7 separate regions of the Homo sapiens genome follow, and regions 1, 2, 4, 5, 6 and 7 are each linked to region 3. The links are contacts of gene promoters, found by promoter capture Hi-C in blood cells and fetal thymus (Javierre and others, 2016). All regions are on one chromosome and are shown on one strand. The core of a region is centred on a gene start or on the middle of the fragment in contact, and the rest is flanking DNA. Distances in the headings are between cores, read along the strand shown.

What was found. The method cuts DNA at HindIII sites, captures the fragments that hold promoters and counts their contacts. A CHiCAGO score of 5 or more calls a contact.
Region 1: a contact is called between a fragment that was not itself captured here and the fragment with the promoter of TMIGD1 in region 3, in 13 of 17 cell types (activated CD4 T cells, naive CD4 T cells, megakaryocytes and 10 more). The highest score is 15.4, in activated CD4 T cells.
Region 2: a contact is called between a fragment that was not itself captured here and the fragment with the promoter of TMIGD1 in region 3, in 7 of 17 cell types (M1 macrophages, M2 macrophages, activated CD4 T cells and 4 more). The highest score is 7.4, in M1 macrophages.
Region 4: a contact is called between a fragment that was not itself captured here and the fragment with the promoter of TMIGD1 in region 3, in 6 of 17 cell types (M2 macrophages, activated CD4 T cells, total CD8 T cells and 3 more). The highest score is 8.0, in M2 macrophages.
Region 5: a fragment that was not itself captured here is called in contact with the fragment with the promoter of TMIGD1 in region 3 in 1 of 17 cell types (M2 macrophages); the score reaches 5.1 in M2 macrophages.
Region 6: a contact is called between a fragment that was not itself captured here and the fragment with the promoter of TMIGD1 in region 3, in 11 of 17 cell types (naive CD4 T cells, naive CD8 T cells, total CD4 T cells and 8 more). The highest score is 20.4, in naive CD4 T cells.
Region 7: a contact is called between a fragment that was not itself captured here and the fragment with the promoter of TMIGD1 in region 3, in 2 of 17 cell types (M1 macrophages and M2 macrophages). The highest score is 5.8, in M1 macrophages.

Annotation. Positions count from the first base shown.
Region 1 is chr17:30,111,003-30,114,933 of GRCh38, forward strand. No RefSeq gene overlaps it. Among named protein-coding and RNA genes, the nearest start is that of NSRP1, 3.8 kb to the right of the region's middle. The HindIII fragment of the contact is 5,096 bases long and covers 1-3,822 here.
Region 2 is chr17:30,144,941-30,148,588 of GRCh38, forward strand. All of the region lies in intron 2 of NSRP1 (nuclear speckle splicing regulatory protein 1), which reads left to right. Among named protein-coding and RNA genes, the nearest start is that of MIR3184, 30 kb to the left of the region's middle. The HindIII fragment of the contact is 1,241 bases long and covers 872-2,112 here.
Region 3 is chr17:30,332,647-30,336,282 of GRCh38, forward strand. It overlaps TMIGD1 (transmembrane and immunoglobulin domain containing 1), which reads right to left and starts at 1,411. Exons shown (of 7, transcript NM_206832.3): 1 at 1,354-1,411. The HindIII fragment of the contact is 5,890 bases long and covers 1-1,636 here.
Region 4 is chr17:30,089,168-30,092,777 of GRCh38, forward strand. It overlaps EFCAB5 (EF-hand calcium binding domain 5), which reads left to right. Exons shown (of 23, transcript NM_198529.4): 20 at 1,254-1,507; 21 at 2,704-2,990. Among named protein-coding and RNA genes, the nearest start is that of NSRP1, 26 kb to the right of the region's middle. The HindIII fragment of the contact is 6,877 bases long and covers 1-3,610 here.
Region 5 is chr17:30,479,515-30,483,126 of GRCh38, forward strand. It overlaps GOSR1 (golgi SNAP receptor complex member 1), which reads left to right. Exons shown (of 9, transcript NM_001007025.2): 2 at 1,629-1,743. Among named protein-coding and RNA genes, the nearest start is that of GOSR1, 3.9 kb to the left of the region's middle. The HindIII fragment of the contact is 1,420 bases long and covers 863-2,282 here.
Region 6 is chr17:30,128,703-30,132,278 of GRCh38, forward strand. All of the region lies in intron 2 of NSRP1 (nuclear speckle splicing regulatory protein 1), which reads left to right. Among named protein-coding and RNA genes, the nearest start is that of MIR3184, 13 kb to the left of the region's middle. The HindIII fragment of the contact is 7,104 bases long and covers 1-3,576 here.
Region 7 is chr17:30,164,178-30,168,185 of GRCh38, forward strand. All of the region lies in intron 2 of NSRP1 (nuclear speckle splicing regulatory protein 1), which reads left to right. Among named protein-coding and RNA genes, the nearest start is that of MIR3184, 49 kb to the left of the region's middle. The HindIII fragment of the contact is 5,370 bases long and covers 1-4,008 here.

The DNA of each region.
Region 1 (3,931 bases), core at 25-2,524, 220 kb before region 3:
GCCAATTCCCTCTTAATCTAAATATGCTTAAGCGACCAGATGCCCTGAACTTCTAGACATTCTCAATCTTCTAACTCAGAAGACCATTTGAAGGTAATTTAAGAATTGTGCAGGCCAGGCACAGTGGCTCATGCCTGTAATCCCAGCACTTTGGGAGGCTGAGGCGGGCGGATCAACCGAGGTCAGGAGTTGGAGACCAGCCTGACCAACATGGAGAAAACCCGTCTCTGCTAAAAATACAAAATTAGCCGGGCATGGTGGCACATGCCTGTAATACCAGCTACTCGGGAGGCTGAGGCAGGAGAATCACTTGAACCCGGGAGGTGGAGGTTGCGGTGAGCTGAGATCGCGCCATTGCACTCCAGCCTGGGCAACAAGAGCGAAACTCCGTCTTGAAAAAAAAAAAAAAAAAAAAGAATTGTGCATTCCTCTCATATATGAGGTTTTATGCAATGCCAGTCCCAAAAACCTCACCCCACATCATCAATGCCATATTCTTACTCTCCTTCCACAGAATCTTGTTACAAAGACCTCTCTCAGGATCAGAAAAAGTAACTATTGGATACTAGACTTCATACCTGGGTGATGAAATAATCTGTACAGTGAACCCCCATGACACAAGTTTACCTATATAACAAACTTGCACATGTACCCCGAACCTAAAAGTTAAACAAATTTTTTAAAGCAAAAATAAAAATTTTAATTAAAAAACCTCTCTCAACTGACAAGATCAGTGAATTAAATATTACCTATTTCACCTGTTTTCTGGTTATAAATATAGCTCACCACTTTGCAAGAAGGGCCATTGTGAACCATCTTTGGTCTAGAATGCTGTCCAGTTCCATAATCTTTTTCTTGGTCAAATTTGTTAAATTTATAAATAAATAAATATTGCCTAATTTCTCTGCCCTTAAACTTGGTTACTACCCTCAGTAGGTGTACCATTTCCTAGTCATTAACCGTATTTAACCTCTCCTCCATCTACTGTCTGAGCTTAGACTGTCCTGCCCAGGGACTTCAAGTGATGAGGCAACCCTGGGTGGCCATTACGTGACTGACTCTGTAGCTACAGTTGTTTGAATTAGGGGTGACCCCTTACCAAAGTGAGACCAATTTGTGAAATGGCCTAATATAAAAAGCACCCAAACCATGGACAAGCCAAACTGGGAAACAGCAATGGGAGCAGTGTCTAAAAGGAAATTAAGGCCGGGTGCGGTGGCTCACACCTGTAATGCCAGCAATTTGGGAGGCCGAGGCGGGTGGATCACCAGGTCAGGAGTTTGAGACCAGCCTGGCCAATATGGTGAAACCCTGTCTCTACTAAATATACAAAAGTAGCCGGGCGTGGTGGTGCATGCCTGTAATCCCAGCTACTCGGGAGGCTGAGGCAGAAGAATTGCTTGAACCTGGGAGGTAGAGGTTGCAGTGAGCTGAGATCACACCACTGCACTCCGGTCTGGGCAACAGAATGATACTCCATCTCCAAAAATAAATAAGTAAATAAATAAATAAAAAATAATAAAAATTTAAAAAATAAAAGGAAATTAAGTGCTTAGAGAGGCCAAAGGTGTCATGACAGGCCTTGAAGGAAGTTGGTGCATACTGCCTTCAAGATGCTACAAGTTAGCAGAAACTATAGGTAGAGAAAAGGTGTGAGTAGTTGGTTGGGGAAAAGATTGGGTGCAAAGAGAAGAAACTGAAAGTAGTGAAGTTAACATTAGTAACACTAGTGTCAAAAGATTAAGTGGAAGATCCAAGGGTTTCGGTAATGGATCCAATTTAGTCAACTGTTCTGTTCTGGAAGTTTAAGATGATTGGAAATTTCTGTTGTATAACATCCATGAGGATGGTAGTGATGATACTATCTTTTACTGGTTTACCCAGCTTGTCCTTACAGCATTTCTTGTTAAAGTTTCAAAAGTTGGGTTCTAAAATGTTAAGAGGCTTCTCTGTGCCCTTACTCACTGCTGCAGTTACCACCACTGCTGCAGACTCTACAACACTGCATCTGAGAAACTGTCCCTTCTAGCCTAGGGAAAATCCCATGACTGCTTCATTAAAATGTCCCAAAGGCAATGGAAGAATACAGAATATAACAATTGAAAAACTCAAATTATGTAGGATATTGAGTTCTCCCCTGGGTAATTATGGGTAACTAATTCCCCATTCAGTCTATTCAAGCAAGAGGCAGGCAGCCCTGGCAGGGGGCTTTATTTTTTACTCTTTATTTTAAGCAAAGTAACACATACTCATAAAAAGTCATTCTGTTATACAAGGTCTGTTGAGACCACAGCATTTCCCAGCCCCACCTTACCTTTATTTTCCTTGCTTCTGAGTCAGCTACTTTCAATTCTTTTTGCTCAGGAGTTGGTAAACAGCCCATTGGCCAAATCTGGCCAGCTGCCTGGTATGGTAAATAAAGTTTTATTGGAATAGCTATGCCCATGTCTGTGGCTGCTTTCACATTACCAGGGCAGAGTTGAGTAGTGGCCACAAAAACCATATGGGTCACATGGACTAAACTATTTGCTATCTGACTGCAGAAAAAGTTTGCCAACCCCTATTTTAGCTGTGGTTTTGACATTTACCTCTATATTGTTAAATTACATGCTTGTGTGGCTACTTTTGTTTTTCCGATTTAGGCAATATCTATTAATCTCCCAGTATACAATACAAAGATTTAGCTCCTTCCTCAGCATATATACACACACGCTTCCCATCCATTCTTCCCAATATTATTACATGGTAATGTAATCAGAATAGATCAATATTCAGTGTTTATATTATCATGATTATGTATGCTATTTACAGCTTAGCCATGTTGTAAATTACAATTATTTTCCATTCCTGTACATCCTTTTGCTTTCCCTAGAGTTAATGTCAAAAGAAAACTGGAGTGCTATAATATCACACAAGTAGATTTCAGAGCAAAGAATATTATAATGATAAAGGTTATTTGATAATGAAAAGTCAATTAAGAAGACATTACAATCTTAAACCTAATAACAGAGCTTCAAAATACATGAAGCTAAAACTGATAGAACTTCAAGTCTATAGACATAAAATATTTACCTAGGACTGGGGGATTTGGAGGAAAATAGGAGTGACTAATAGGTATATGGTTTCTTTGTTGGGTATTAAAAATAATCTAAAATTGGCCAGGTGCAGTGGCTCACACCTGTGATCCCAGCACTTTGGGAGGCTGAGGCGGGTGGATCACCTGAGGTCAGGCGTTTGAGACCACCCTGGCCAACATGGAGAAACCCTGTCTCTACTAAAAATACAAAAATTAGCTGGGTGTTGTGGCGGGCGCCTGTAATCCCAGCTATTTAGGAGGCTGAGGCAGGAGAATCGCTTGAACCCAGGAGGCTTGAACCCAGGAGCTTGCAGTGAGCTGAGATGCACCATAGCTCTCCAGCCTGGGAAACAGAGCAAGGCTCTGTCTCAAAAAACAAAAACAAAACTAAAATTGATTGTGGTGAGGGTAGTACAACTATGACTATACTAAACATACAACTTGACTATACTAAACCCCACTGAATTGCACACTTTAAATGAATGAATTGTATGATATGTGAATTATCGCTCAATAAAACTTTTTAAAAATATTTTTAAAAATATTATACTAGATAGAAATCTGAATCTATACAAAGACATGGAAACACCAGAAATGATAAATATGTGGGTAAACGTATTTTTCCTATTCAAAAAAATCTTTTTAAAAACCAAGTTACTTTTTATAGCAAAAATAATTTATTGTGCATTTATGACATAGTGACAATAGCACAAAACTAGGAGATAAAATGGAAGTATACTTTTCTAAGCTTCTTATACTATACACAAAGTGGTAGATTCTTACTTTAAGGCAGATTGTGATAAGTTTAAGACATATATTAGAAACCCTAAAGCAACAGCTTATATAACAAGCAAA
Region 2 (3,648 bases), core at 242-2,741, 190 kb before region 3:
ATATGTGCTACCTGGATATCTGTGTATACTTTTAAATTATATTTTGTTTTGAGTACATATGATTTTGTAAACATAAATGTTACTGCATTATCTCATTTTTTTAGTCAACACTGTGTTACAGTATGTATACCTAGTTAATTGTTTTTAACTACAGCATATACGTCTACTGTATTTTATCTATCCCATTCCTTCTGAGATAAACACTTAAGTTACCTTCAGTTCCCTGCTACCACAGTGATATTATTTTAAAAAATTCTCATACATGTCCCAGTAGAAACCCTTGTGAAAGTTTTTATGGGGATATATATTCAGGGGTGGGATTTCTAGATCATAGGGTATGTATATAAATTATTGCACTAAGGCCGGGCGCAGTGGCTCACACCTCTCTAATCCCAGCACTTTGGGAGGCCAAGGTGGGCGGATCACGAGGTCAAGAGGTTGAGACCATTCTGGCCAACATGGTGAAACCCCATCTCTACTAAATATACAAAAATTAGCTGGACGTGGTGGCGTGCTCCTGTAGTCCCAGCTACTTGGGAGACTGAGGCAGGAGAATCGCTTGAATCCGGGAGGTGGAGGTTGCAGCGAGCCGAGATCACGCCACTGCACTCCATCCTGGCAACAGAGCGAGACTCCATCTCAAAAAAAATTATTTCACTAAGTACTGATAAATCACTTTCTGAAATGGCTTTATCAGTTTACATTTTCATTGGTGGCCACTGTTGTTTTTCTCATCAGCCGTTTATTTATTTACTTTTTTTTTTGGAGACAATTTTTACAGTACCATCCACAAATAGTGGATACATTTTTTCCTGATTTGTGGGTCATCTTCATTATGTTGTATTTCCGTATATCCGTGAATCTGCTGCTAAGCTTTCCTGTTTTATTTTTATATGTTGCTGTGCCAAAACATAGTTTGTTTTGTTTTAGACAAGGACCCACACTGTTCCTCAGGCTTGAGTGCAGAGGCATGACCATGGCTCACTGCAGCCTCGATGTACGGGGCTCAAGCAATTCCCCCACTTTTGTCTTCCGAGTAGCTAGGACTGCAGGTGCATGCCACCATGCCCAGCTAATTTTTGTATTTTTGTAAAGTTGGAGTTCTGCCGTGTTACTGATGCTGATCTCGAACTCCTAGCCTCAAGCAGTTCTCTTTCCTTGGCCTTTCAAAGTGCTGGGATTACATGTGTGAGCCACTGTGCTTGGCCAAAATATCGTTTTTTAAATTATTGTAGCTTAGTATATCTAGTTGAGTGAGCCCCCTACTCTACACTTCTTTTTCAAACTTGATCAAACTATTTGTGGACTTTTATTGTTATATAGATAAAGTTTGTGAAATTCCTTCAAAATTAAAACTCTTCTGAGATTTGTATTAGAACTGCCTTGGATTTATAAGTTATATTAGTCTTTAAGGAACTACATGTAAGTGTGGTATAGTTCTTCCTTCATTTAGACTTTTTAAATTTTAAATAGAAACAGGGTCTTGCTATCTTGCCCATGCTGGTCTCAAACTCCTGGGCTCAAGTAGTCCTCCCACATTGGCCTCCCAAAGTGTTGGGATTACAGGTGTGAGCCACCACACCCCTCCTAGACTTTATGAGGTAATTTTTTACCCCATTAATGTCCTGTGCCTTATCTGCAGTTTAATTTCTAGATACTTCCTACATTTTGTAGCTATTGTGAGTGGTACCATATTTTCAGGAATATATATATTTTTAAGAGTCTTGCTCTGTCCCCCAGGCTGGAGTACAGTGGCGCAATCTTGGCTCACTGCCACCTCTGCCTCCCGAGTAGCTGGGATTTAGAGGCGTGCAGCACCATGCCCAGCTAATTTTTGTATTTTTAGTAGAGATGGAGTTTTGCCCTGTTGGCCAGGCTGGCCTCAAGCAGTCTGCCCACCTGGGCCTCACAAGGTGTTGGGATTACAGGCGCAAGCCACCACACCTGAGCCTAATCAGATTTACTGTAATAGTTTGTTTAAACCATCTGCTTCATCTCTTCTAGTCCTTATACCTCTTTTTCCTGTTTTACTTTATTAGACAAGTTTTCAGTAGTATGTTGAAAAATGTCCTTAGTGGGCATTCTGACCTGTCTATCCTAAGTGATATCCTAAGCTTCTGAAGTTTTTCCATTAAGTTTGATTTTTGTTATTGGCTTTTGGTATATAGACTTTTTCTTTTTCTTTTCTTTTCTTTTTTTTTTTTTGAGACGGAATTTTGCTCTTATTGCCCAGGATGGAATGCAATGGTGCGATCTCGGCTCACTGCAGCCTCCACCTCCTGGGTTCAAGTGATTATGCTGCCTCAGCCTCCCAAGTAGCTGGGATTACAGGCCTCCGCCACCATGCCCCAGCTAATTTTTGTATTTTTAGTAGACACGGGGTTTCACCATGTTGGCTAGGCTGGTCTTGAACTCCTGACCTCAGGAGATCTGCCCACCTTGGCCTCCTAAAGTGCTGGGATTACAGGTGTGAGCCACTGCACTCGGCCAGACTTTTGTTTGTTTGGTTGGTTGGTTTTGTTTGTTTTGTTTTGTTTTGTTTGAGATGGAGTCTCGCTCTGTTGCCCAGGCTGGAGCGCAGTGGCCAATCTCGGCTCACTGCAAGCCCCGCCTCCCAGGTTCACGCCATTCTCCTGCCTCAGCCTCCTGAGTAGCTGGGACTACAGGCGCCCGCCACCACGCCCGGCTAATTTTTTATATTTTTAGTAGAGACGGGGTTTCACCATGTTAGCCATGATGGTCTCAATCTCCTGATGTCGTGATCTGCCCGCCTCAGCCTCCTAAAGTGCTGGGATTACAGGTGTGAGCCAGTGCGCCCAGCCCCGGCCAGACTTTTTTAAGTTAAGGAACTCTTCTATTCATCACTGACCAACTTTTTTTTTTTTTTTGAGACGGAGTTTCGCTCTTGTCCCCCTGGCTGGAGTGCAATGGCGCAACCTCAGCTCCCTGCAACCTCTGCTTCCCGGGTTCAAGCAATTCTCCTGTCCCAGCCTCCCGAGTAGCTGGGATTGCAGGCATGTGCTACCATGCCCAGCTAATTTTTTGTATTTTTGGTAGAGTTGGGGTTTCCCCATGTTGGCCAGGCTCATCTTGCGAACTCCTGACCTCAAGTAATCAGCCCGCCTCAGCCTCCCAAAGTGTTAGGATTACAGGCGTGAGTCACTGTGCCTAGCCTGACAATTTTTTATAAATCACAAATAGGTACTAAATGCCTTCCTGAATTTATTGAGCTAGTTAAGTCATTTTTCTCCTGTGGTTCATTAATATGGTTTATTAGATTGATACATTTTTAAATGTTAAACCATTCTTGAATTTCTGGCTTAAATCCTTTTGAGCAGGATGTATTATTTTTAATATGCTAGTAAACTCAATTCACTAAAACTTGATTTAGGGTTTTCAAACATCTATGTCTATAAGTGGGAAAGGCTTTGTTTATTGTCTAAAAATGTCTGTAGGATTTTAATTTATGGAGGTGACAAATGACATATTGAGACTAATGCCCTTTAAAAGAAGATTATTGTTATGTACATTTACTGACAGGAGAAGACATGCCATTTCATTCAGGGCTACATAGGGAAGAACCAGTTTGGATCAGGAAAAGCCTGGTTCAGAGTCTTTATTGTATTTTTCATGGGAAAGGAAGGGAAA
Region 3 (3,636 bases), core at 161-2,660:
CCTCTAGTTTAAACCATGTTAATCTTGTCTTTCTCCCACTATTCTCTCTCTCTCTTCCCCTTGACCCAATGGACTAAAAATAATAAATAATAAAGGTGTCCTTTCTCCCTTCTTGCTTTTGCTTCAACTCTCCCTCTCCCTAAGATATTCTCCATTTCCATCTGGGAAAAAAACATATATTCATTACTTCCTTTCAAGAGTACTACTATAAATATAGCGAACCACATACGGAAAACTTTCTGCGCAACAGGGACTGTGCTAAACACTTTACATACATCATTTCAGTCACAATTAAGCCTCCTAACAACCCTCCTGAGGTCGTTTCTATAGATTTAAAGAGACTATGTAATTTGCCTGAGATCCCACAGACAGTAAATGTCAAGGTCGGGATTTGAACCCAGACTCCCAAGACCATGCTCTTAACCACCCTACTCTCAACCACCCTACTACCCAATCTACTGCCTAGATTAATATTCTTTTCCTTTAAGAAGCTGCTGTTAGGCTGGGTGCAGTGGCTCATGCCTGTAATCCCAGCACTTTAGGAGCTGAGGCAGGTGGATTACCTGAGGTCAGGAGTTTGAGACTAGCCTGACCAACATAGTGAAACCCCATCTCTACTAAAAATGCAAAAAAAAAAAAAAAAAATTAGCCAGGCATGGTGGCGAGCGCCTGTAATCCCAGCTACTCGGGAGGCTGAGGCAGGAGAATTGCTTGAACCTGGGAGGTGGAGGTTGCAGTGAGCCAAGATTATGCCACTGCACTCCAGCCTGGGCGACAGAGTGAGGCTCGGTCTCAAAAAATAAAAATAAAAAATAAAAAAATAAAAAAAAGCTGCTGTTAATCTTTTCCAGTCCCTGGCCACTGGGAGTTCTCTCCCCTTAACACCAGTATTAATTTACAAGAGCTGAAATATACCTATACCTACTCTACTCCTCCCCTGTCCCAGGCGTGCCCTGACAGGAGTAAGTTTCATTCATGCCAGGCTCACCCTTTCTGGCAGACAAGCCTGCATCAATCTTTTCGTAAGATGCAATTACTACTAATATTGATTCTTTTGTAATTTTAAATATTTGCCAAAAAGATTTCTATCACAGTGTTGTAACAGTGATTACTGCAGAATGTGGTCAATAGTAGAGTTTTCTCAAGCGCTCTGCACTACAAGTACTCAATAAAAACTGAGAGTGCAGGCTTCTTGCCAGACCTCACCCAGCCCTATTAAGGGGACAAATCTATGTCTTCTCTTTCCCTCCACTCCACCGAGACAGCAACTTTTCAAAATGTATTCCCCTCACTTGGCTTGTTTTTAATCTGTATGACTCTCTACTTTCTATATAAGACAGTCTTACCACTTACCTCTTGAGCTCTGAGAAGCTGACTTCCTTGGCCAACTGTTCCTCTGCCTGAAAACCCTAAATGCTTTCCCTGTTACAATCCTTTATAATACTTGAATTTGAACGCTTTATGACAGCAGGGTCAAATAAATAAGATAACTTGGGTTCAAAGTCTGTTTTTCTTTATGGAGTCTTAGAGAAGATAGTAATTGGGAAAGACATCTTCTTAAGATCTAAGTTTCTATGTCTACCTCGGTTACTAGGTGGGGCCGGATATTACTAACAGGGATGTGTTGTTCCAAGAAAGCTTGAACTTGTGCAAAAATCTGTAGCGCATCTCACTGAATATTGTCATATTTAAGTAAGATGGCTGCGTTTTGATCATCTAGCCTGGGGATTGTGAAGGGACGAGTCCAAAGAGAAGTTTGACTTTAACAGAGGTCAAAACATTGGAAGATTCTACACAACTTAAATAATGCTGGAAAAGTCTTAGTTACCACTAGTAACCCAAGCCCAGTGCATAAGCTGTACCAAGCCAGGCATGGCAGGGAGCCGTTTTTTTGTTGTTGTTGTTTGTTTTGTTTTTTGAGGCAGGGTTTCACTCTGTCACCCAGATTGGAATGCAATGGCACAATTGTGGCTGACTGAACCTCTGCTCCCAGCCTCCCAAGGAGCTAGGACTACTGGCGTGAGTCACCATGCCCAGCTAAACTTTGTTAATATATATATTTTTGGTAGAGATGAAATTTCGCCATGTTTCCTAGGCTGGTCTCTAACTCCCGGCCTTAAGCAATCTGCCCACCTTGGCCTAGGGAACAGTTTTATCCTCTTGAGGCTCTCACCTGATTGGGAGATCCTTGCATTACACTATGTTTATGGTATTGTTAACGATGCAAATTTTATCTGCCAAGTACTATTGTTCCCATTTACACAAAAATATAACAGAAGAATATTTATAGTTATCTACACATTTTAACACACTGCTGAAGCACACCAGCAATCTGCCTCTTACTAGCTATGTAACTTTGAAAAGTTATTTAACCTCCATGAGCCTCAGGATCTTCATCAATACAATGGAAATAGTAATAGTACCCTCCCTACGGAGTCACTGTGAGGATTAAATGAAATGAAGCATGTGAATCTGCCGCACAGTAAGCTCTTGGTAAACAGTAGCTCTTATTACTATTATTATTAATATAGGCTGAGCAGGGCATCCTAAATCAACACAACCTCACTATAGCATTGTTCAAGCAAAAATCAGAGCTAAGAGCAGCTCCTGTTGGCTGGGTTGCAAGCACCACCCAAACAGGTTTTGAGTTTGCCTCTCCAGGGATCCAAGATTGTCATTTTAAAATGAATTTAGCAATGGAGTGATGTTTTGGTTCTTGGTGCCTCCAAAATAGACCCTGAGACAGAGCTTTGAGTGCCAATAGTTTATTTAAAGGTGATCTCGGCCGGGCACGGTGAGTGGCTCACTCCCTTAATCCCAGCACTTTGGGAGGCCGAGGAGGGTGGATCATTTGAGGTCAGGAGTTCGAGACCAGCCTGGCCAATGTGATGAAACCCCGTCTCTACTAAAAATAGAAAAATTAGCCAGGCATGGTGGCGGGCGCCTGTAATCCCAGCTACTTGGGAGGCTGAGGTGGAAGAATCCCTTGAGGCTGGGAGGTGGAGGTTGTGTTGAGCCAAGATTGGACCACTGCATTCCAATCTGGGCGAGAGAGTGAGACCCTTCCTCAAAAAAAAAAAAAAAAAAAAGTGATCTCAGGAAGCATAGTAAGGAAGTAAGATAGGGAAGGGAGGAAACTAGTAAAGAATGTGTTAAAGATTACTACCGTGAGCAACTATATCCCTGGAGCTTTGGACAAGTTGTATTCTGTGCAGCATACCTCAGAATCAACTACTGATAGGGAAGGAAGCAACTTCTCTCCATCTCCGGCTGAGGGACACTCTCAAGGTGTTGACTCTCTGGCACTTTCAGCCTGCCCTGTGAGGGCAAAGTGTACTCTCTCAAGCTGGCCAACATGTCCAGGAAAAGATGCTCAGGAAGTCACTGGCTATATGGGAACTCTTTGCAGGTAACTTCTGGGTAGGCCAAGGATGTGTGAGTAGAGCACCACCAGCAACTTCTACAATTGGATATTAGGTGATATTAGGAAATAATGATTAATTATTATTAGTTGTGATCATGGTATTGCAGTTATGTAGAGAATGTTCTAATTCTCAAGGGATGCCTGCTGAAATATTTATGGGTCAAGTGTCATGATAATTGCAACTACCTTTCAAATGATTCAGCAAGAAAAGT
Region 4 (3,610 bases), core at 25-2,524, 240 kb before region 3:
CCTATGAGTGGGAACATGCATAGCCCTGGATTCTTGTGTGTAACTTAGAACAGATGTCTTTGGAGGAAGTCAGTTGACCAATGGGCTCTATTGTTATTCCTGGAAAGCCTAGTATGATGCATTATTACTATGGCACTCATCGAGACACAACACAAAGTGGTGGCTCAGCAGCAGCAAAAGGGGTGGGAATAGCAGAAGGACATCATCTTACCTGTCACTGTAGGATTGATATAGAAACTATAAATGCGCTTTTCGAGGATGCAAAGTACCAATTTTTTACAAATACCTTAAAGAAATGGCATATCAGAATTAATGTAGATGGGGAAAGGGAAAAGAAAGAAAAAGAGGTGTGTCTGTGCCTCACCAAGAGAAAGAAGCAGCCACCACATTTCCATGAAAATCTCAAGTCTCTCACTGAGGCAGATGCTATAGATGCTCTACCCAGATCCCCAAAATGCCTTTTACCAGCTGCTGTAGGCACGGCCTGGCTCACACCGTAACTTTCTCTGGAGGAGCGCCCTTGAGCGATTGGAGCTCTTCACCAGGAGTTACCTAAGAGATGGGTAAACACTCCCCCAGCCCAAACTGCCCACACACACCCAGGGCAGCTTAGAGCCAATGACTGACTAGTGCTAGGATGCAAAAAACCCCTCCCTTTGCCTCAAGGTGGGACAGATTCTTTGGTACAATTGACCTTTCAGAGCTCCCCTTGGGATCAGGCCGAGGCTAGACTTCATGTGAAATTACATTCTTACTTAGCTTCTTCCCCTTGCCTGTCCTGCTTCATTCAGTCCCTCACAGGTTTCTCCAGCGAACACTCGCTCAGTAAATCACTTGCATAAGCATCCCTGTCTCAGGCTCTGCTTCTAGGGAACCCGACCTAACACACTCATCATTTCTGCTGGCACTCCACCAAAGCATAATGGACAATAGGTAAACAAAAAATGAACACCTTCAGATAAGCCAAGACAACGAAGCAAAGTATCATGATGGAGAGTGGCTTGGGCGCTGCTTGAGATTGGGTGGTCAGGGACGCCTTCTCTGCCGAGGGGATGTTTGAGCAGAGACATGAGTGAGCAAACAGACAGCCATGTGAAATCAAGGGCTAGAATGCTCCAGGCAGATGAAACAGCAAGAAGGGCTGGCATGGTGGAAGTGAGGTAGGCACAAGAGAGTAATTCAATATGTTTTGGTGGAATGATGTGAACAGACAGATGTTTAATATCCTTGTGCTTATTTGGTTTTGATTTCAGAGATTTCCTCTTTAAATGTACTGACAGTTCAGAAGTTGTTCTGGCTTCTGCCTGTGGAGAAACGCATATAGTAGTTCCACTTCGTGAGAGAACAGGAGAGGCTCTGGGAGTCCTCGATTTTAACATCGGCCAAAATAGGATGTTGTTGTGTCAAGAATATAAAGATCTACAGAAAATGATGAAAGTGGTCCAAGTGGCCTGCTATGAAATACTTGGCGAGTTCTCTGGAGAGATAAAGAAAAAATATATCTTAGGTATCGTTCATGTGGCATCAGTCTAAATTCACAGGTTTAATAGGTTTTGGGGAAATCACAGGGAGTGCAATGAAATATGCACTTTCTAAAATGAATTGTTACAACATACACATCTTTTCATATAAAAGGAATTCCCTTATGCAGTCTTGCGCTGACGAGTAATGTCTACAAATTAAAGGAAACAGCCTGGAATCACATTCTCATGGTTAGATTCCTACAGTTTTAGAGCTGGAAGGGCTCATAAAGGCAAGCTAGAACTAGCATGTATTAAATACCCCCATTATGTGCTTCAGATATTATTTCATTCAATCCTTGCCATAACCCTATGAGATGAATAGTGATACCCCACTTACAGGTGAGGAAAGTAAGCAAATTGCCCCCAGTCACACAGTTAAGAAATGGTGAGGGCTGGATTTGAACCTAGATTTGGGTGCTCTTCCCACTATGTTATACAGCATTAAGTAATCAGAACATCTCGTTTTACAGATAAAGATGCTAAAGACTGCAAAAGTAAAGTGGATTATCTAAGGTCCAATAGCAAGCTGGTGGGAGAGCCAGGATTAGACTTTAGTTTTTGTGATTCCACATCCACTAGGCTACTCTCAGCGCAATGCCAGCTGGAGAGAGGGAGGGAGGAAGAAGGCCTGGAAACCTTTGGCTTCCTAGAATGAAGTGAATAGAATTAGCAGAGTAACACTATGTGGGATTGAGCCAAAAGATTTGTAACTATGTCATAGAGTGGGATAAGAAGAAAGGAGAAATTTCATGTCTCCTAAGTGTTCACTATGTGTAACGCCTGTAACTAAGCACTTTTACATATATCATCTTCTCTAATTCTCACAGCTAACCAAGGAAGTAGGGATTAAGCCCATTTTCACAGAAGAGGAAAAGGATATTCAGAGAGACAATAGACTAATAAGGGTGACAGCGTGTGTTCAAACCAGGGTCTAACTCTAAAACCCAAGTTTTTGCCTTTTCTCAAAGCCTCTTCCTATGAGCTTCACCGGGAGTAATTTCATTGCTTTCTTTTGATTTCATGGCTAAAGAAACTGAGATTGTTTAAAACCAAAGGCTATGGTCTGCTTTTTCTTGACAAAAACATTTACTATAATATGTTCAGAATCCTATGAAAAAGTAATGTACAGCAATGTACATTAGACTGAACAGCAATGTGAGCTATCATTTTGTTATTCCAGAGATTGAAAATGTCAGGGAAGTCCAGCGGGCAGGAATTCTCTTCTTCCGAATCATGCTGCTCGAGCTACAGGAAAGCATCCAACTACTCAATTCCATGGAATTTGTGTCACTGTTGCTCTATGACCATACTCTTGTAACAGAGCCAAATTCTCCTCAAGACAGCAAATCTATGGAGTTGGAAGCCAACGTGAAACTAGTGCGTGACATCCTGAAGGCGGTTATCTTGTTCTTTCATCCAGAGTTGGAATTTTCAAGTGACTTTGGAAGTTGGGATAAGTGTAAATTTGTAAGTTTTTTTTTAAAAAGCACCTTTTAAATTGAAGAATCGCCTAAACAAATTTAACTGTACAAATCATAATTGCATAAATCATAAGGGTACAAATGCAAGAATTTTTACTGAGTGGAACACGTTCACGTAACCAGACCTAGATCAAGAAATAGAGCATTTATGGAATCCCAAAAGCTCTCCTTTGTACCCTTCCTCATCATCCCTTCACCCCACCCACCCCAAGGGTAACCATCATCTTTTTTTTGAGACGGAGTTTCACTCTTGTTGCCCAGGCTGGAGTGCGATGGCGCTATCTCGGCTCACTGCAACCTCCACCTCCTGGGTTCAAGCAATTCTCCTGCCTCAGCCTCTCGAGTAGCTGGGATTACAGGTGCCCGCCACCACGCCCAGCTAATTTTCTGTATTTTTAGTTGAAACTGGGTTTCACCATGTTAGCCAGGCTGGTCTCGAACTCCTGACCTCAGGTGGTCCTCCCACCTGGGCTTCTCAAAGTGCTGGGATTACAGGCGTGAGCCACCACACCCGGCCATGGGTAACCATCATCTTCACTTCTAACACCATTGATTGGTTTTGCCTATTTTAAAATCTATATAAATGGAATTATGTAAGCTGTTGAA
Region 5 (3,612 bases), core at 323-2,822, 150 kb after region 3:
TTTAGATGGAGTCTCGCACTGTCGCCCAGGCTGGAGTGCAGTGGCTCAATCTCCACTCACTGCAAACTCTGCCTTCCAGTGCCTTCCAGGTTCACGCCATTCTCCTGCCTCAGCCTCCTGAGTAGCTGGGACTACAGGCGCCCACCACCACGCCTGGCTAATTTTTTGTATTTTTAATAGAGACAGGGTTTCACCGTGTTAGCTAGGATGGTCTTGATCTCCTGACCTCATGATCCGCCTGCCTCGGCCTCCCAAAGTGCTGGGATTACAGGCGTGAGCCACTGCGCCTGGCCTCAGTAAGTTTTTTAAAGGCGGTTTTTGGCCAGGTGCGATGTCTCATGCCTGTAATTCTAGCACTTTTGGAGGCCCAGGCAGGAGGGTCACTGGAGTTTAGGAGTTCGAGAGCAGCCTGGGCAACATTGTGAGAAAAAACAGAAAAGAAAAAAAGAAAGAAAAAGGCAATTTTTGTGGTAACTTTTTTTCTTTATGTTCAATTGAGAAGTCATTTTGGTCCGGGCGTGGTGGCTCACACCTGTAATCCTAGCACTTTGGGAGGCCAAGGTGGGTGGATCACTTGAGGTCAGGAGTTAAAGACCACCCTGGCCAACATGGTGAAACCCCGTCTTTACTAAAAATACAAAAATTAGCCAGGCATGGTGGTGTGTGCCTGTAGTCCCAGCTACTTGGGAGGTAGTTGAGGCATGAGAGTTGCTTGAACCCAGGAGGTGGAGTATGCAGTGAGCCAAGGTCATGCCACTGCACTCCAGCCTGGGTGACAGAACGAGACTCCATCTCAAAAAAAAAAAGAAAAAAAAAGGTAAGTCATTTTGCTATTATGAAAAGAAGTTCATAAGCCTAATAAAGCTTTGGAACATAAAAAGCAAAATCCCTTTCAAAAGAATAATGGCTTCTTTCTTATAACATTAACTGGTAAGTTGATAATGCTGGTCATAAACCATATTTTTAGTTCCTTTGTGATTTGTATTATCTTCTTGTTTTTCTCTGAATTGCAGAATTTTAGTTATTGCTATACAAATAGTTTCAGGAAGGATAGAACAACATTTGTTTTCTAGCCATCTTTGGAGTAAAGCTGCGAAGTTGCATCTACCATTACTATTTCCCTTCTTGCCCCCTCTGAAGTTTATAAGTGACTAATCTGCTTTGCTGGGCAAGTCCTTGGTTTCCTTCTTTTAAGACTTTTATTTTCCTTTTTTTGAGACATAGTTTTGTTCTTGTTACCCAGGCTGGAGTACGATGGCGCAATCTTGGCTCACCGCAACCTCTGCCTCCTGCGTTCAAGCGATTCTCCTGCCTCAGCCTTCCGAGTAGCTGGGATTACAGGCGTGCGCCACCACACCTGGCTAATTTTCTATTTTTAGTAGAGATAGGGTTTCTCCATGTTGATCAGGCTGGTCTCAAACTCCCGACCTCAGGTGATCCGCCCACCTTGGCCTCCCAAAGTGGTGGGATTACAGGCGTGCACCACCGTGCCCAGCCAACACTTTTCTTTATGGGGGTAACAAGATCAGTATATGATCATTTTCATAGTTTGTTTTCTTTAGAATGGTGCTGTGATTTTTGTGTCTACTTTTTATGTCTAATTATTTGTTGTTATAATTTTGTTAAAGATCTCAGGAAACAGGCTCGACAGCTGGAAAATGAACTTGACCTGAAACTAGTTTCCTTCAGCAAACTATGTACAAGTTACAGTCATAGCAGTACCCGAGATGGAAGACGCGACAGGTATAGGTACTACCAGATTCTGTCTCCTATGCCTTAACTGTGTTTTTAAAGCATTAAAAAATAAACTAAAATATATAACTTCTGTAAGTTGGTCTATTGGTGAATTTTTGGTGTTTTGTTTTGCCATTCATTGTTTTATTTTTTAGTGACTTATTAAAATTCTTCTGAATTCTCGAGACTAGCATTTATTTGGAATCCTTAGGCAAAGATTGTTACAGTGTCAGAAGAAACCTGCTAGAACTTCAGAATAAGTTTGTATCAAAAATATAAGTGTCTAATTCAGCCAGTGTAGGGAAAAGGTGGCTGATTTGCCCGTGTGGCATGTATTTCTTGTGTTTTTCAATTGCTAAATGGACCTGTGGATCTACCCAGGTGCCAGGTATACATACTGCTTTTCTGGTGTTTATTGTATTAGAGGGTATCTAATGCACTGTGTATCCTTGTTATTAATTATCAAAGCTATCTTTAATTTTGGTACTTTTTTGGGAAACTAGTGTATTACCATATTAAATGTATGGAAAATACATTCTTATCTTTGAAGCTTATGCTCTCTGTAAGTCATCCACTTGTTTCAAGAAAATATTGGGAGTAGCCAGGCACAGTAGATGACGCGTGTAATCCCGGGACTTTAGGAGGTTGAGGCGGATGGATCACTTGAGCCCAGGAGTTCAAGACTAGCCTGGGCAACATGGTGAAACCCTGTCTCTAAAAAAAATAGAAATAAAAAAAAATTTTTTAATTAGGCAATATTTAAGACAGTTACAAAGAATAATATCATGAACCCCCATGACCCTATCTCCCATTTTTAAAAAATGATAATTACTCATTCCACTGAAGCCCCTTATGGCACCCCACTTTCTCCCACCCCATAATCCACATATATTCTTACTGCATGTTTATATTCCTGAGCAATTCATAGTATTCTATTATGTTATATAGTATATATATAATATAGTTATTCTACAACTTTTTCTTTAACATTTTTGAGATTCAGCTATGGATTCATTTAACTCTGGTATATTCATTTGTAATTCATATGTAGTATTTTATGACTATCACAGTTTAACCATTTGATGATGGCCATTGTTTCTAATTTTTGCTAATTAATAATAATTTTGATAGCTGACATAAGAGTGTTCATTATATGTTAGGTAAGAGCTTTCTATAAATGCTGCTGGGAACATTTTTACGCAGAATGTTTCTATATACCTAGCGGTGAAATTGCTGGTAGCAGAGTTGTTGTTAATCCACACTTATTTTACATACTTTTTCAAAGATTAGAAGTGAGTAGGATATTTGTCAGCTAATAAAAACAATGAAATCTGAGCTTAGATTTGAATCTAGATCTATCTCCAGAGCCCACACTCTAAACCCTACTATAGTGTATACATTTGAACAAAAAGCTGATTTCAACACTATAGCCAAATTACTATTTCTTTTTCATAAGGACTCCTTGGTTGTAAAGGCAGCAAGGCCAACATTGACTCTAGGATCTAAAAATAAATTACTAACACATCAAATAGATTGCATTGCTTTGGGCTTGGCTTTATTTAGCAAGTAAAGAGAATGAAGAATGTTCTTTCTATGCATTTTCTATGTTCTGTGTGCTTCATGAACTAATACTTTTGTTATTCCTCTAAAGGAAAAACTATCTTGAAAACATTTCCCAAGAAATTCTACCACAAACTGAAACTGGCTTTGTAGAATTACTTCAGCCTAACTCCCCTTCTAAATAAAAACCTAAGGCCATGAGGATCAGGATTTGATGTCTATTCTAAAGTGTCTTGTTTGATGCCCAGGTTGGAAGCATGTCACTATGAGTCAACTAAGCAATAACTAGAATATTATTTATTCCAGGCATCTTTCTTT
Region 6 (3,576 bases), core at 98-2,597, 200 kb before region 3:
TTTATGATCGTAAAAATTTAAGACCAGTCCAGCTTTCAACAGTGAAAGCATGAGTAAGTAAAGTGTGTGCAATACTACGGCTATCACATTCATCATGAAATAACATTTAGTGAAAAAATATATACAAATTTGTTATAGATAAAAGGAAAAAAGACAATAAAGCATTTCATATTAATGGTAGTTATCTTTGTATGGCAGACAATGAGTGGTTTTTTTGTTTTTTTTTTTTTAATTTGTAGAGATGGGGGTCTCGCTATATTGCCCAGGCTCATTTTGAACTCCAGGCCTCAAGTGATCCTCCTGCTTTGGTGTCCCCAAGTGCTGGGATTACAGGTGTGAGCCACCACGCCTGGCATGATTTTTTTTTTTATACTTTTCTGTATTTTCAACTATTTTTTAAGAAAAATTATGGTGAATTTTAAGGATTTCCCATAGTGTATTTAGTTTCCAAATCATATTAAAATGTAAAAAGATATAACACATTTTATCTGATAGAAGACTAGGAGAGAAAATATTGGGACATTTTAAAAGCATGAGGTAGATGAAATAAGGATACAAAATTGAATACTTAGGGTTGTACAATGCTATAGGTGCACAGATAAGTAAAAAATAATAAATGAAAATGATTACTTTTTAGCATGGTAGTGTGAGTTTTTTTTCAAAATCATATTATTATTTTGTTATAATTTTGACGAATACAAGGAAGTGAGTGCTTAAAAAAAAAAAGATAACCATAATTGTGTATTCCCAAAGTAAGAAGCATTAGCAAGTTACAGGATTACATAAGTGTATACACTTCCATTCCTTTCACTATTTCTTGATATTTCTCCTCTTTAATCTTTTTAAAAATTTTCTTGAAAAAGTAAGTTGAAGGTTTGGTTTTCCTAATGAAAAATTAATCTTATTTTAGCTGGAAGCCTGTTTGGCTTACTATTGGTAAGAAAAAGTTAAAATTTTAATCTGTCTGAACATTATAGTACATCCAAATCAATAAAATGTTTTAGTTGTGGTTTTTCATCAGTTTTAATCAGATAATGCCTTACTTCTGTAGATATAGTCTAGTATAGTTCAAATAAAAAGACAGTTGTACATAGATAAGACAAAGCATATTGTGAAAATGTTGGGAAATTTAGGTTATTTTAATGATGGCTGAGAATTTGTGAACTTTTCTCATATGCTATTAAACTGAATTACTAGTAAATTTATGGTACCGAGTATATCAAACAGTGAGGGATTTAAAGTAATTTTGCAATTTGCTAAAATTTCATCCTTAACATACTGGCTAAGAGTGAAAAAGCAAGAAGAGAGAAAAGGAAAAGGATGGAACTAAGACAATTCTATTAGAAGTGGGGAGATGGCAAGAAAATTCTGTCCTCCTTATTTTTCTTTTTCTTTTTTAAAATATTTCATTTTGAGACAGGGACTCACTGTTGTCCAGGCTAGAGTGCAGTGGCTCTGTCACAGCTCACTGTAGCCTCAACCTCCTGGGCTCAAGCAATTCTCCCACCTCAGCCTCCCAAGTAGCTGAGACTACAGTCATGCACTACCATGCCTGCCTAATTTTTTTTTATTTTTTTGTTGAGACAGAGTCTCACTATGTTGCCCAGGCTGTTCTGGAGCCCCTGGCTTCAAATGATCCTCCTGCCTCAGCCTCTCAAAGTACTGGGATTAGAAGTGTGAGCCACTATGCCCAGCGTCCACTAGTCTTTTTAACCATTGTTTTCCATTTCTGAGGTCTTTGACTTAATTTCATAGTTTTTCAACATGTGCTCATTGGGGCATTATTTCTTAAGTTTTTGATTGTTAAATAATGCTTGCCCATTGCTTTTGTCACTTAAATATCTACTTGATTGGGTGTAATATTTCTACAATAACAATTTATTTCAAAATCTTACAGACATTAGTGATTTTTTCTGGTACTTAATGTTCTTATGAGGAAGTACAACACTATAGTTTCTTTTATCCCTACTTCTAGACTTTTTTTAATTGGCTTGGACTACTGGAGAGTATATAGCCTTTTTAACTCAATGTGTCTTGCTGCAAATAATGTTGAATTGTTTTTTCCAGGAATACACTGTTTCTTTTTCTCTAAATATTTAGCTTTTTCTTCATTTCATTGAAATTTACTGTCATCCATGTGCTGGGTTATCATTTTGGAGGATCATCTTTGTCTTTCATATCATCGTCATGCATTTATTAATGCATTCAACAGATATTTATTGATCACTTGCCCTGTGCCAGTGAAACATAACAAAAGCCACTGCCTTTATGGCACTTATATTCTCAAGGTGGTGGTGGTGGGGGGTGATAAGTAATTAACATAACAGATAAGTAAGTTACATGTGAATTTAGAAGATTACAGAGCTGTGAAAAAGTAGAGCAGGATAAGGAAAATTAAACAGGTATTTAGGGAAATTACTCAGTCTATGTCTTTTTCTCTCTACTAAGATTAAACTTTTGTCAGTGTTTCAGTTATAGCTTTTCTGTTTCTTACTGTTTCTAATTTATTAGCTCTATTGGTGTTATTTTAGTCTTCAATATATTTTCTTTAGCTCTACAGTTTCTCTGTCTTTTATTGTCCTCTCATCTGAATAGTAACTTTTAAAATTTAATTAGTAATCTTATTTTGAAGAGTTTGACAGGGAAGAGAGAGAGGAAGAGATGGAAATGATAGTTCAAAGATACACAGGTATACCTCACTGATATTGTGGGTATGGTTCCAGACCACTGCAATAAAGTAAATATCTCAGTAAAGCAAGTCATGTAAGTTTTTTGTTTCCTAGTGTATATAAAAGTTATGTTTATGCTATGCTGTAGTTTTTAAAGTGTGTAATAGCATTATAGCTAAAAAAATGCCTATACCATAATTTTAAAATACTTTATGCTAAAAAATGCTAATGATCATGTGAGCCTTTAGCCAGCAATAATCTTTTTGCTGGTGGAGGGTTTTGTCTCAATGTTAATGGCTGCTGACTGATCAGGTGATGTTTGCTGAAGGCTGGGTGGCCGTAGCAATTTCTTAAGACAAAAATGAAGTTTGCTGCATTGATCGACTCTTCCTTTAATGAATTATTTCTCGGTAACATGTGATGCTGTTTGATAGCATTTACCCACAGTAGAACTTTAAAAATTGGAGTCAGTCCTCTCAAATCCTGCTGCTGTTTTATCAACTAAGTTTATGTAATAATCTAAATTCTTTGTTGTCATTTCAACAATGCTCACGTCGTCACCATGAGTAGATTCTATATAAAGAAACCAGTGCAAGGCCAGGCGCGGTGGCTCACGCTTGTAATCCCAGCACTTTGGGAGGCCGAGGCGGGCGGATCACAAGGTCAGGAGATCAAGACCATCCTGGCTAACATGGTGAAACCCCGTCTCTACTAAAAATACAAAAAATTAGCCGGGCATGGTGGCGGGCGCCTGTAGTCCCAGCTACTCCGGAGGCTGAGGCAGGAGAATGGCATGAACCAGGGAGGCAGAGCTTGCAGTGAGCTGAGATCATACCACTGCACTCCAGCCTGGGCGACAGAGCGAGACTGTCTCAAAAAAAAAAAAAAGAAAAGAAAAGAAACCAGT
Region 7 (4,008 bases), core at 678-3,177, 170 kb before region 3:
ATATGGCTGCTTTCCTACTAGATTATAATCTTTTTGTAGCACCTAGCCTAAGTGCTGTACACATATTAGGCTGTCAGCATGTTTACTGAATTAAGTTAAAACATTTGGAAGGAGCTACTGCTTCAGGTTTTTGAAAAGGTATTTTCCTGAGATTTTGATAAAGAACCTATCTTGAAATATTAGTGTGTTTTTTGTACTTTTAGAACAGTTCTAATGTTTGCATTTGAACCTATTTGTTTATAAGTTGATTTTTTTTCCTTCGAGATAAAGTGCCTTATAGGAAGTAAATTTTGTCTCCCTAAATTTAAAACTAACGATTTTATTAGAAGGCACCATTGGCTGAGCATGGTGGCTTATGCCTATAATCCCAGCACTTTAGGAGGCAAAGGCGGGAGGATTGCTTGAGCCCAGGGGTTTGAGACCAGCCTGGGCAACAAAGCAAGACCCTGTCTCTACAAAAAAATAAAAAAATTAGCTGGATGTGGTGACACACATCTGTAGTTCCAGCTACTCCAGATGCTGAGGCAGGAGGATTGCTTGAGCCCGGGAGGTCGAGGCTGCAGTGTGCTGTCTTCATGTCACTGCGCTCCAGCCTGGACAACAGAGCAAGACCCTGTCTCAAAAAAAAAGAGAAAAGAAGCCAGTTTTAAGGAATATTCTCCTGTGTTACACTGCAAACTGGTCCTCAGGCATAGAATTAAAATAATTGTCTACCTACTAATTTTGAAATGAGTCAATGACTTTATTGTGTGGTTTGGTCACATTCAGCCTTAATCTTTTTTTAAACAGCTGTTTTTCCCTAGATAACTTGTAAGCTAATATATTTTGTGGCAAGAACGAAATGTTTTTGCGATATTTATACTAAGCAAAATACAAAATACCCTTGAAAGTAATGCTGGTAGAAAAGAGCCAATCTCAAAACGATATACTGCATAATTCAATTTATTTAACATTCATCAAACACAGAGATAATGGTTGCCAGGGATTAGAGATGGAGGAGGAAGGATGAGTATGGCTTATAAAGGAGTAGTGCAAGAAGTATTGTGGTGACTAGTACAATTAAGTATCTTGATTACGGTGATAGTTACTTGAAGCTCTGTGTTATAAAATGGCATAGGACTATGCACATACATGCACAGATGTGTATGTGTAAAAATGGTGAAATCTGAATAAGCAGTGTGGGTGTACCAGTGTCAGTTCCCTGGTGTTGATATTGTACTCTATGCAACTTACTAACATTGGGAGAGGTTAGGTAAAGGGTACACAGTACTTAACTGTACATTTCTTTGAAGTTTAAAAATACGCTTTTTAAAACAAGCACTTCCCCTTCTCACCCCAAACCAGGACAATTATTAGAGACAAACGTCTGTTCATTTGGTGTGTCCTTGTATCTTGCCATTTGATTATAGCAGCACAGCAGAGGATACCCTCAAAGGAGAATACTCCCTAGTCTACTCATGTTTTGGGGGCAGTGTATTTTTGTTTATGAATTAGTTCCTACTAAAGCCACTATCAGTTCTAGAAAACCCATTTCTAGTTACGCTATAGCTCCCATGGCTAATTAAGGATTCAAATGTATGCATCCTCCATTTTCCTGTTTATGGACATACTGAATATAAAACCTTAAAGAATCAACACAAAAGAAAACATATACAGCCTTTTAAATATTCAGCAGAATAGATTTTTCTAATTCAGTGGATGGAAATATATTAATGTCACTTCAAATAAATACCAACCTTACATTTTATTAAGCACACTGATAAATATACTATAAAGAGGAATATTGTTTGCATGCTTTTCTGGTGAATAATCCAAGAAAAAAAAAAGTACAGCTACTGTGTTCTCATAACTTAGTTTTGATTTGTTTAAATATAAGCATTTCTTCAGCCATATATTTTTAAACAGGAACATGATAATAACAAAAATGGTAGCTAACCTTTGTGAGGTAGGTACTAATATATAGAGGAGGAAACTGAAACAGGAAGAAATTAACATACCTAGAATAACAAGCTAGCAAGAGAGAGAACAGTTGTAGACTGTTTCTGAGTCTACACTTGTGAACGTTATTTTGTAAGTTCTCCTCATGCTGTACAGTATAGGAACACTGAAGTTAGAGATTAATAATCTTTGCAGTTATTATATAAGTTTTGTTTTATTCACAGGGCACTTATGAAATCTATTTTTTCTCTTGCTGAGTTCAATAAGATCAACCCTTCCCTGATTTATGGCAAGAGGATCTGCTTTTGTGATATTTACCTTCTTGAGTATCCTTTCTTTTTATGAAAACCAGACTAAATTAAAAGTTCTCTTAAAATTTGTGTTAGTATTTGAAAAAATTTTATACAAGTTTATGGGATACCTGTGAGATTTTGTTATATGAATGCAATGCTTAGTGATCAAGTCAGTCAGCAATTAGTGTCTGTTACCCAAGTACAATACGTTTTTGTTAAGGGTAGTCACCCTGGCCAGGTGCAGTGGCTCATGCCTATAATCCTAGCACTTTGGGAGGCCGAGGTAGGCAGATCACTTGAGGCCAGGAGTTCGAGACCAGCCTAGCCATCATGGCAGAACCCCATCTCTACTAAAAATACAAAAAAAATTAGCCACGCATGGTGGCGCACACTTGTAATCCCAGCTACTCGGGAGGCTGAGGCAGGAGAATCGCTTGAACCCGGGAGGCAGAGGTTTCAGTGAGCTGAAATCACACCACTGCACTCCAACCTGGGCAGCAGAGCAAGACTCCATCTCAAACAAACAAAAAGGATAGTCACCTTACTCTTCTGTCAAACACTGAATATATTCCTTCTATCTTACTGTATGTTTGTACCCTTTAACCAGCTTCTCTTTATCCTCCCCATTTCCCTCACTTACCCTTCCCAGTCTGTTATCTACCTTTTCACTCTACCTCCATGTGATCAAAGTTTTTATTTTAGCTCCCACATGGAAGTGAGAACATACGATATTTATCTTTTTGTGTGTGGCTTATTTTACTTAAGGTAATGACCTCCAGTTCCTTCCATGTTGCTGTAAATGATACGATTTCATTCTTTTTATGGCCAAATACTATTCTGTTGTGTATGTATACTGTATTAGTATTTTAAGGATACCACTAAAAACGTAAAAAGACTTGACCTTTAAAAACATAAGATCTGGCCGGGCACGGTGGCTCACATCTGTAATCCCAGCACTTTGGGAGGCCAAGGCAGGTGGATCATGAGGTCAGGAGTTCGAGACCAGCCTGACCAACATGATGAAACCTTGTCTCTACTAAAAATACAAAAATTAGCTGGGCATGGTGGTGTGCGCCTGTATTCCCAGCTACTCAGGAGGCTGAGGCAGGAGAATCTCTTGAACCCGGGAGGCGGAGGTTGCAGTGAGCCGAGATCGCACCACTGCACTCCAGTCTGGGCAACAGAGTGAGACTCTGTCTTAAAAAAAAAAATAAGATCTTACTGATCTGCTTTTAATTGTAGTAGTTTTTTTTCTCACACATAAATATATGTATTTAAGATATTTGTTAAAAAGAAAAATATTTTCCCATTCATGATATGACTACAATGTATCTGAAGGAATCTGTTTTTCATTGATACTATGGAGTAGATGTAGAAACAGTACTTAAAATATCAAATACTAAATAGACTCGTTTTTCCTTTAATGTTAATAACATTCTGTGTTTTCATTTTATGTGACTTTCCACTCTAATGGTCAACAGTACATGTACAGTTATAATAATACTTATGTTACTCTAGTAGATGGAATCATACCTCAGCTTTACGTTTTCAGAGGAATCATCTCAGTTGGTGAATTTCCAATAATAGCAACATAGGACACCGTTCAATATTATAAAGTTTAAATCAGATTTATGCTATAGGCTATTTGTACCTTTCCATGCCTTTTAATTCTGTGTTGTCTTGAGACATTTCAGTGTATATCCAGTACTGGTGTTTAAAGGAAAGTTATTAAAGTTTGGAATAAGAGTACCTGAATTGGAATCTTGCTTTGCCATTC